Regions from separate parts of the Homo sapiens genome. Here all the other regions are linked to region 3. Evidence: promoter capture Hi-C in human tissues and cell types (Jung and others, 2019). All regions are on one chromosome and are shown on one strand. The core of a region is centred on a gene start or on the middle of the fragment in contact, and the rest is flanking DNA. Distances in the headings are between cores, read along the strand shown. Region 1 holds the start of TNFRSF8 (TNF receptor superfamily member 8). Region 2 overlaps CLCN6 (chloride voltage-gated channel 6). Region 3 holds the start of DHRS3 (dehydrogenase/reductase 3).

What was found. Contacts are between HindIII fragments. The study calls those that stand out against the background at their distance.
Region 1: a contact is called between the fragment with the promoter of TNFRSF8 here and the fragment with the promoter of DHRS3 in region 3, in 1 of the 25 tissues and cell types used here (adrenal gland).
Region 2: a fragment that was not itself captured here is called in contact with the fragment with the promoter of DHRS3 in region 3 in 1 of the 25 tissues and cell types used here (adrenal gland).

The regions. Positions count from the first base shown.
Region 1 is chr1:12,061,918-12,064,617 of GRCh38, forward strand. TNFRSF8 (TNF receptor superfamily member 8) reads left to right here and starts at 1,386. Exons shown (of 15, transcript NM_001243.5): 1 at 1,386-1,744. The coding sequence starts at 1,682. RefSeq lists silencers at 829-1,061, 1,649-1,778. The HindIII fragment of the contact is 14,330 bases long and covers 1-2,700 here.
Region 2 is chr1:11,809,369-11,812,068 of GRCh38, forward strand. All of the region lies in intron 2 of CLCN6 (chloride voltage-gated channel 6), which reads left to right. Among named protein-coding and RNA genes, the nearest start is that of CLCN6, 4.5 kb to the left of the region's middle. The HindIII fragment of the contact is 4,210 bases long and covers 1-2,700 here.
Region 3 is chr1:12,616,941-12,619,695 of GRCh38, forward strand. DHRS3 (dehydrogenase/reductase 3) reads right to left here and starts at 1,270. Exons shown (of 6, transcript NM_004753.7): 1 at 214-1,270. The coding sequence starts at 408. RefSeq lists enhancers at 895-1,526, 1,527-2,158, 2,159-2,755. The HindIII fragment of the contact is 24,076 bases long and covers 1-2,755 here.

The DNA.
Region 1 (2,700 bases), core at 136-2,635, 550 kb before region 3:
CAAACAAAATCAGTCAAAAGAACCCTTGACCTGTGGCCCACCCAGCAGATGCTCAACACAGACACACGGAATGTGGAATAAAAGGAGCAAAGAGAAAACCCAGGGGATGGGGAAGCACTGGAAGGGAAAATCATTCACCAGCAAATGAGAACATAGTACGAGGAGGCTTGAATCATTTCTGTTAGGAGAGAGTGCCAGCCGCCTCCTCCAGGAAGAAAACTCTAAAGGGTCAGGCCTCAGGGAAATAAAATGATCTATACCATCCATCAGTTCCTCCAACATTCAGTCCATCCATCTACCAATCCACCCACCCATTTACCCACTCACCTGCTGCTCATCCATCCATCCATCCATCCACCTATGCATCCATCCATCCATCCATCTATGCATCCATCCATCCACCCATCCACCCACCCATTTACCCACTCACCTGCTGCTCACCCATCCATCCATCCATCCATCCATCCATCCATCCATCCATCCACTTATGCATCCATCCATCCACTTATGCATCCATCCATCCATCCATCCATCCATCCATCCATCCATCCACCTATGCATCCATCCATCCATCCATCCATCCATCCATCCATCCATCCATCCATCCACTTATGCATCCATCCATCCATCCATCCATCCATCCATCCACCTATGCATCCATCCATCCATCCATCTATGCATCCATCCATCCACCCATCCACCCACCCATTTACCCACTCACCTGCTGCTCACCCATCCATCCATCCATCCATCCATCCACTTATGCATCCATCCATCCATCCATCCATCCATCCACTTATGCATCCATCCATCCATCCATCCATCCATCCATCCATCCATCCATCCACCTATGCATCCATCCATCCATCCATCCATCCATCCATCCATCCATCCATCCACTTATGCATCCATCCATCCATCCATCCATCCATCCATCCATCCATCCATCCACCTATGCATCCATCCATCCATCCATCCATCCACCAATTTATCATCCACTCACTGATTCATTTTACAGCAAATGCTTATGAATGGGGATGGGTGGGTGATGGTTGCTTTTTCTGCAGTCTCCCTAGGCCAGTTGTCCCTTCCAAAGAATCTCAAGGGCATGGGAGAAGGTCCTGGCTGATCGTGTCAGGGACAGGAAACTACTCACATTTCACCGTTTCTTGGGGCAGGAGTGGAGGTGGGGGCATTGGAACCCCCTTGGGGCCTCCTAATATCCTGTGAGTCCCCACCTCCAGGGCCAGAAGCTGCCTGCCTCCGCTCCCCGCAGCCCAGGTGCGGCGGGCAGCACACTCCCTAGAGCCAGGACCACTAGTTCCGTCAAATCCGGGGCGGGCCATTCAAACAGCTAAGGGAGGCGTCTCCTAGTGTGCCTTTTCCTGAGTCATCTCTGCACGTGTTTGCCCCCTTTTTTCTTCGCTGCTTGTAGCTAAGTGTTCCTGGAACCAATTTGATACGGGAGAACTAAGGCTGAAACCTCGGAGGAACAACCACTTTTGAAGTGACTTCGCGGCGTGCGTTGGGTGCGGACTAGGTGGCCGCGGCGGGAGTGTGCTGGAGCCTGAAGTCCACGCGCGCGGCTGAGAACCGCCGGGACCGCACGTGGGCGCCGCGCGCTTCCCCCGCTTCCCAGGTGGGCGCCGGCCGCCAGGCCACCTCACGTCCGGCCCCGGGGATGCGCGTCCTCCTCGCCGCGCTGGGACTGCTGTTCCTGGGGGCGCTACGAGCCTTCCCACAGGTAAGCGGGTGACGGGCGCCTGGGGAGGTGCCGGCGGTCCAGAGCCCGGACAGTGTGGGGTGCGTGGGACGCAAGGGAGGACACTCCTCACCCCGTTCCCTGCCCAGCTGGAGTGAGGGGGCGCGGGTGACAAGCAGGAACACCGGAATATGCTAGCACCCACAGGTGGGAGGCTGGCTGAAGGGCTAGTGGTGGGGGGCGCCTCCTTCTCACCCCGCGATGGCTGGGACTGATTCATTCATTCAGTGTGAATTGGACTGAGAGCACTGCCATACGCGGGAGGCGCTCTTTAGCCCGCCTACCTGCGGGCCCGTCGGGGTCCTGGGCAGATCAGGTGAGGCCGTGGGAGTAGTGGGCAGGCCAGATGGGGCCTCCCTTAGCCATGGGAGGTTGGTCGTCCGCGCTCTACCCTGTTGTGTGCGCGGTCCCGTTTGCCCCCTTCCTAAGCTGGCCACTGGCTGGAGGGTCAAGGAAAGGAGGGAGAGTTGGCTGTGGGTGAGAGTGGGGTGAGGGTGCAGGACCACCGGGATTAGCTTCCCCAATCCGCGTCCGGCAAAGCAACGCTGTGGATTGAATTCGCTGGAGCACGTGGTGGGCATTTGCCCCTGGAAGAAGGTCAGTGGTGGGGCTGAAGTCTATGGTGGGTTGCCTCAGAATTGAGTTTGGGGACTGCTTTAGGAAAACTGAGCACTTACCAGTGGCCAGCGCCAAATTAATCACTGTGGGGAGAATGCAAAGTAACCAGGCGTGTTTCACGGAGCCCAGGGGCTGCTGGAGAGAGAGGCCCTCAGCTGACCCAGGACCCCGGTGGACCCCTGCATAGAACCATAGTAGGTGCGAGTGGATGCCTGCTGAATGATACAGAGGGAAAGGAAGGAGCAGGCTGTTAGTCCAGCGGTGGGTCACGGTGGGGGAGAGGGAAGACCCAGTTCCCCTTTAATCCTACAGGAAGAGAG
Region 2 (2,700 bases), core at 129-2,628, 810 kb before region 3:
GCTCCCTCACCCCTTCTACTAAATTGTACTTACATTTGTAATGTGCTTGCCTTCAGCTGATATGCATATTCATGTAAATTTTTGTTGTTCTTGTCATTGTTTGAGACAGAGTCTCACTCTGTCGCCCAGGCTGGAATGCAGTGGTACGGTCTTGGATCACTGCGACCTCCACCCCCGCCTCTGAGTTCAAGCTGTTCTCCTACCTCAGCCTCCCAAGTAGCTGGGACTACATGCATACACCACCATGCCTGGCTAAGTTTTGTATTTTTAGTAGAGATGGGGTTTCACCATGTTGGTCAGGCTGGTCTTGAACTCCTGACCTCAGGTGATCCACCCACCTCAGCCTCCCAAAGTACTGGGATTACAAGCGTGAGCCACCACGCGTGGCCATATTCATGTACATTTCATGGGTTAATGTTCTTTTGATATTGGTCATTGATATTTCTCAACCATCTTCAAGAATGAGCTTCTTGAGAGCACTTGCTTTGTGTAAGAACAAATTCAGGCACTTAAACAGAAAAGTCTGGATTTTATTTATTCAATAAATAAATCAACTTGACACAAAAAGTATAATAAAGAGGGGAGTGAGTGGGACAGGTTAAAATAGTTGATTTAGTGGAATCTCATTTTTGTTATTTAAAACACGTGTTAAAAGCATGTGTATAAAAACGTGGGTAAGGATGTAGAAGGATATTTAGTAAGGTATTAATAGTCATATTTTAATGAATGGAGTTATAGGGTTTTCTCTACCTTGATAGTCAGTCAACTAGAAAACCCTTCTGTTGAATATCTTTCTAAAAAGTGCCCCTTCTTCCTGTCTCAGGAAGAGTTCATTGCACATATTTGACTCTTTATTTGATAAATTTAGGGTCTTACAAAATGTTAGAATCCCATTTTGACATCCATTCTCATTATAGGTGGTTTGAAAAATGGTAACTTTCTGTGAGATGTGCCATTGCAAACAGGAATGTTTTCATGCAGGTCACACAGTCTATTTATATTGTACCTTTGAATTAGAAAGAGGCACACTCAGAACGTAAGACTTAGAATTAAAGGCCTCCCCCACTGGCCATAGCAGCACCCCTAGCTCACAACCAGTTGAAGGTGGTTTTGGTGTGAACACTAAGATGCCCCTTCCTGGTTGAATTGGGGCTGGTTCAGCCCCCACCTCCCTCCCGGCCAGGTGCCATTTTGCTCGTAACCCCCTGTAACAGCCCTGCAAGACACAGATAACATTTTATTTTTTTAAAAAGTTGTTAGTCCCCTAAACCAAAGAGCAACATATACTGCAGAAATAAAAAGTTAGTCATAGCAAAGGAGAAGTAACAGTATCTGGTTTTAATAATAGCTCATATATTCCATTGGTACATATTTACAAAGGGCCAAACTCAACTAATTTATTTAAAAAAAAAAGAAGCGTGGCACAGTGGCTCACGCCTATATGCTCAGCACTTTGGGAGGCCAAGGCAGGAGGATCGCTTAAAGCCAGGAGTTCAAGACCATCCTGGGCAATAAAGTGAGACTTTGTTCCTACAAAAAAATTTGTTCAAAATTAGCAGGGGGCCGGGTGCAGTGGCCCACACCTGTTACCCCCACACTTTAGGAGGCTGAGGCAGGTGGATCACTTGAGCCCAGGACTTCATACCAGCCTGGGCAACATGGCGAGACTCCATCTCAACAACAAATACGAAAAAATTAACGAGGTGTGGTGGCTAACCTGTGGTCCCCCCTACTCAGGAGATCGAAGCAGGTGAATTGCTTGAGCCCAGGAGACGGAGGTTGCAGAGAGCTGTGATCACGCCACTGCACTCCAGCCTGGGTGACAGAGCGAGACCCTGACAAAAAAAAAAGGGATTCTGGTGTTCTAGCGTTGCGGTTGTTTCTAAATGCCCTTCTTAGCAGTTTTATTGCACTATAATTGGCATACTATTCAGTTCACCCATGTAGAGTGTACAATTCAATGGGGTTTTAAAAATTAGTATATTCACAGAGTTGTACAACCATTCCTACAGTCAATTTTTTTTTTTTTTTGAGACGGAGTTTCGCTCTTGTTGCCCAGGCAAGAGTGCAATGTTGTGATCTCAGCTCACTGCAACCTCTGCCTCCCGGGTTCAAGTGATTCTCCTGCCTCAGCCTCCCAAGTAGCTGGGATTACAGGCGTCTGCCACCACACCCGGCTAATTTTGTATTTTTAGTAGAGACGAGGCTTCTCCATGTTGGTCAGGCTGGTCTTGAACTCCTGGCCTCGGGTGATCCGCCCGCCTTGGCCTCCCAAAGTGCTGGGATTACAGACGTGAGCCACTGCGCCCAGCTAATTCCTACAGTCAATTTTAGAATATTTTCATCACCTGAGAGGAAACCCTGCACTCATTAGCAGCCACTGCCTGTTCTCCTTGCCCCTGACTCCAGGCAACCAGTGATCTCCTTTCTGTCTATTTGCCTATTCTAGATATCTAAAAACCTTCTAAATGTTTACGGAACCATATCATTATTAGATGGAACCATCAATGAAGTACTTGACCAGTAATTTCCATACATATTTTGGATGAAGGCAAGGGTATTGTTTCTCCTCTGCTCTCAGGCACCACTCGCGGAACACTGCTAACACCGATATGTGGAGGTTGTTTCCCCACTACTCAGGAGGCTGAGGTGGGAGGATGGCTTAAGCCCAGGAGTTGGAGGTTGCAGTGAACCGAGATT
Region 3 (2,755 bases), core at 20-2,519:
GGAGCGGATCAACTCTGAACCTGCCAAAAAAGACAGTCCGGTGCCCGGGAAATTTACAAGGTGAAACCGACTAGCTCAGCACTCGTGGGTGGCGCGGAGAAGTGGGGTGGCCGGCGACTCTCAGCTCCCGGGCGCGGGATCCCGCAGCGGCAGCAGGTGGGCTTACCCCCGCCCCTGCGGCCCCCCACTCCCTGGAGTCGCAGTGCCTGGTACCTTTCTGGCGCCGCGCTCCGCGAACTCGCGGGCGAGCTGACGCCCGATGCCTCTCCCGCCGCCGGTGATGAGGACGTTCTCCCGCGACAGGTCCCGCAGCTTGGCGGGCAGCACCAGTCCGACGGCTGCTTTCACCACCAGATAGATCATCTGTAGAGGGAACATCACCAGCGCGCCCAGCCGTTTCCACACCATCCTCCGCGCCGCGGAGCCGGGCAGGGGGCGAAACTCCCCGGGCCGAGCAATACAGGAATTAAAAAACACCCCGAACAATAAATAGTAAACCGAATAAGGAGGAGAGAGGCGTCCCACCTGGCCACTCTTGAAATCACCTCTTCCCAAATGCAAAGCACCGGGTGAGAAAAAGAAAAAAAAAAAAAAAAAAAAGATAAATTCTCCTCTGGGGGAGAAAAAGCGTCTCCTAAGGTTGGGACGGTAAAAGAGGTGGAGGGGGAAGCCGGAGGTGGAAAGTTCTAACAAGAAGTTTCTTGCCCCAGCAGCCGTTTCGGCTGGGGAATTCTCAGGTAATGTTTACAGACTGACAGAGGAGTTTAGGGAGGGGAAGAAAAAAAAAAAAAGGCACCAACCACACGCGCGCACCCTGCCTCGGTCCCGCGGTTTCAAAGTGCAAGATTAAAAAAAAAAAAAAAAAAAAAAAAAAAGCTGATTCCAAATTGTAGCGCCCCCACCCCCACCCCGTCTCCAGAAAAAAAAAAAAAAAAAAAGTGGGGGGAAAAAGTGCTTGGAGCTCCCAATTTCAGCCCGCGAAAGTCTCCCGACTCATTGCTATTCTTGGGCTCAGGAAATTGCTTAAACGCGATCTGATTGCCAGCAACGTGCAGGAGAAGTGGGGGGTCCGGGTGTCAGTTTCTTTACGTGCAGCGCTCGCCCTCGCGCGCGCTCGCTCGCTCCGGCTCCCTCCCTCCCTCTCTGTTCCAGCAGAGGCTGGGAGTTGCCGCTCGATCCAGCTCCCCTTCTCTCCCTTTTTAGCATTTATTGCCTTCTTTTTGTCCTTTCCAACTTGGAGAGGGTCCGGGTGTGGAGCGCGCGTGGATCGGACGCCTTGGTCTGCGCGGCCCTATTCATTCGCTCCCCGGGCAGCCGCGTCGCGGAGAGGGCGGCCCCTTTTTCCCCCATTTTTTCAATACCCCATTAAGTCTGATTGACAGTTAAAGTTGTTGGGAGGCTTCACTACCGTTCCTCTGAGTGGCTGCTGCGGCCTCCCCTCCCCCTGCGCCGTCGCGGGGAGCGCGCATAAGGCGCGCACTCGGGCTCGCCGGGACTCGCGCTCTCCCGGGACTGGCTCCCCTCTCTGCAAGCCGGGACTTGCCGCCGGTGTCCCTGAGGGCTCGCAGCTGTAACTCGAACACGCTGGAACCGACTCCGGCGAGCCGGCTGCCTTCTCGAGACGTTCCTCCTTGCCCGGGCCGCCCGCGGGCCAGGTGATCACCCCGAGTGTGGAGCAGGCCCGGGGGAGCTTGCGTATGCCTTGATCCAACCAGGTCACCCAGGGTTTTATTTCAGGTCATTTGGTCATCCTCGGCCTCCAGGTAGGATCAGGAAGCCACTCCTCACCTTTGCCCGGACCTCTTCTGTGTTCACGTAGAGTGGACTTTTAAAAGCCTGACCCAAGTGCCTCACGATGCTTAGGGGGAAGCCGCTGGGGAGCAGGACTTTGCTTTGAGGGGAGGGAGTAGTCAAGGTAAAGGAACCTCTGCTCCGAGTGCCAATAAAATCCCCACAAGATTAGCTGGGAGCATATTTATTGCTCATCTGAGCTAGAATTACCTTGACTGACACCAATTTCCTTAATAACAAAAGCCTGTAAACAAAACGTCCTATTCGTGCGCCCCTGTGCTGTGCAGCCAGCGTCTCCTGTCCTTGGGTCTCCCTGGACTGCCCTGGCGGGGCACCCACCTTCTAACCTCCTGCCCTTCCCGACCGGAATGTCTCCCCTGCTGGAGGGTGGGACCGAGCTATTTAGAGTTGTCTGTTGCAGGAAGTCTGGGAGGTGAGTCACTAAAAAGCAGCCCCAGTTCAAAGTGCTGATGGGACTTGCCTCCCGCCCCCCTGCACGTTCCCGGGGCCGGAGGAGCGAGAGCGAAGCAGGGAGCTGCCCTGTAATCTGGGGCAGCCGTTTCCAGCCCGCGACTTGTTCAGACGGCGATTCCTGGGCCTCACCCCCAGAGATTCTGATTCAGCAGGGCTGGGTGCGCTGGGATCGGTACTTTCAATGCTCCGCCTGGTGAGAAAGTCACTTCGAAAAACGCTGATCTGCGGGGAGGGGAGGCTGGGATTACCTCGTCACCTGCAAAGACCTAGTTCTGGGGAGAGGTTCTGCAGGGGAGGATCTTCCTTCTGGGTGAAAAGCCACTGGAAGAGCAAAAGGCAGGAGAGGCTTAGGATGAGCAACTGTCCTGCACTGAGGGCCTATATTCTGACACAGTCCTTCCCCTGACCTTGCAATCGGGGGACTGTTATCCCATCGTCCAGGTTACCCAGCCAGGAAGTGCAGGAGGGGGGATCCCAATCCAAACCTCTT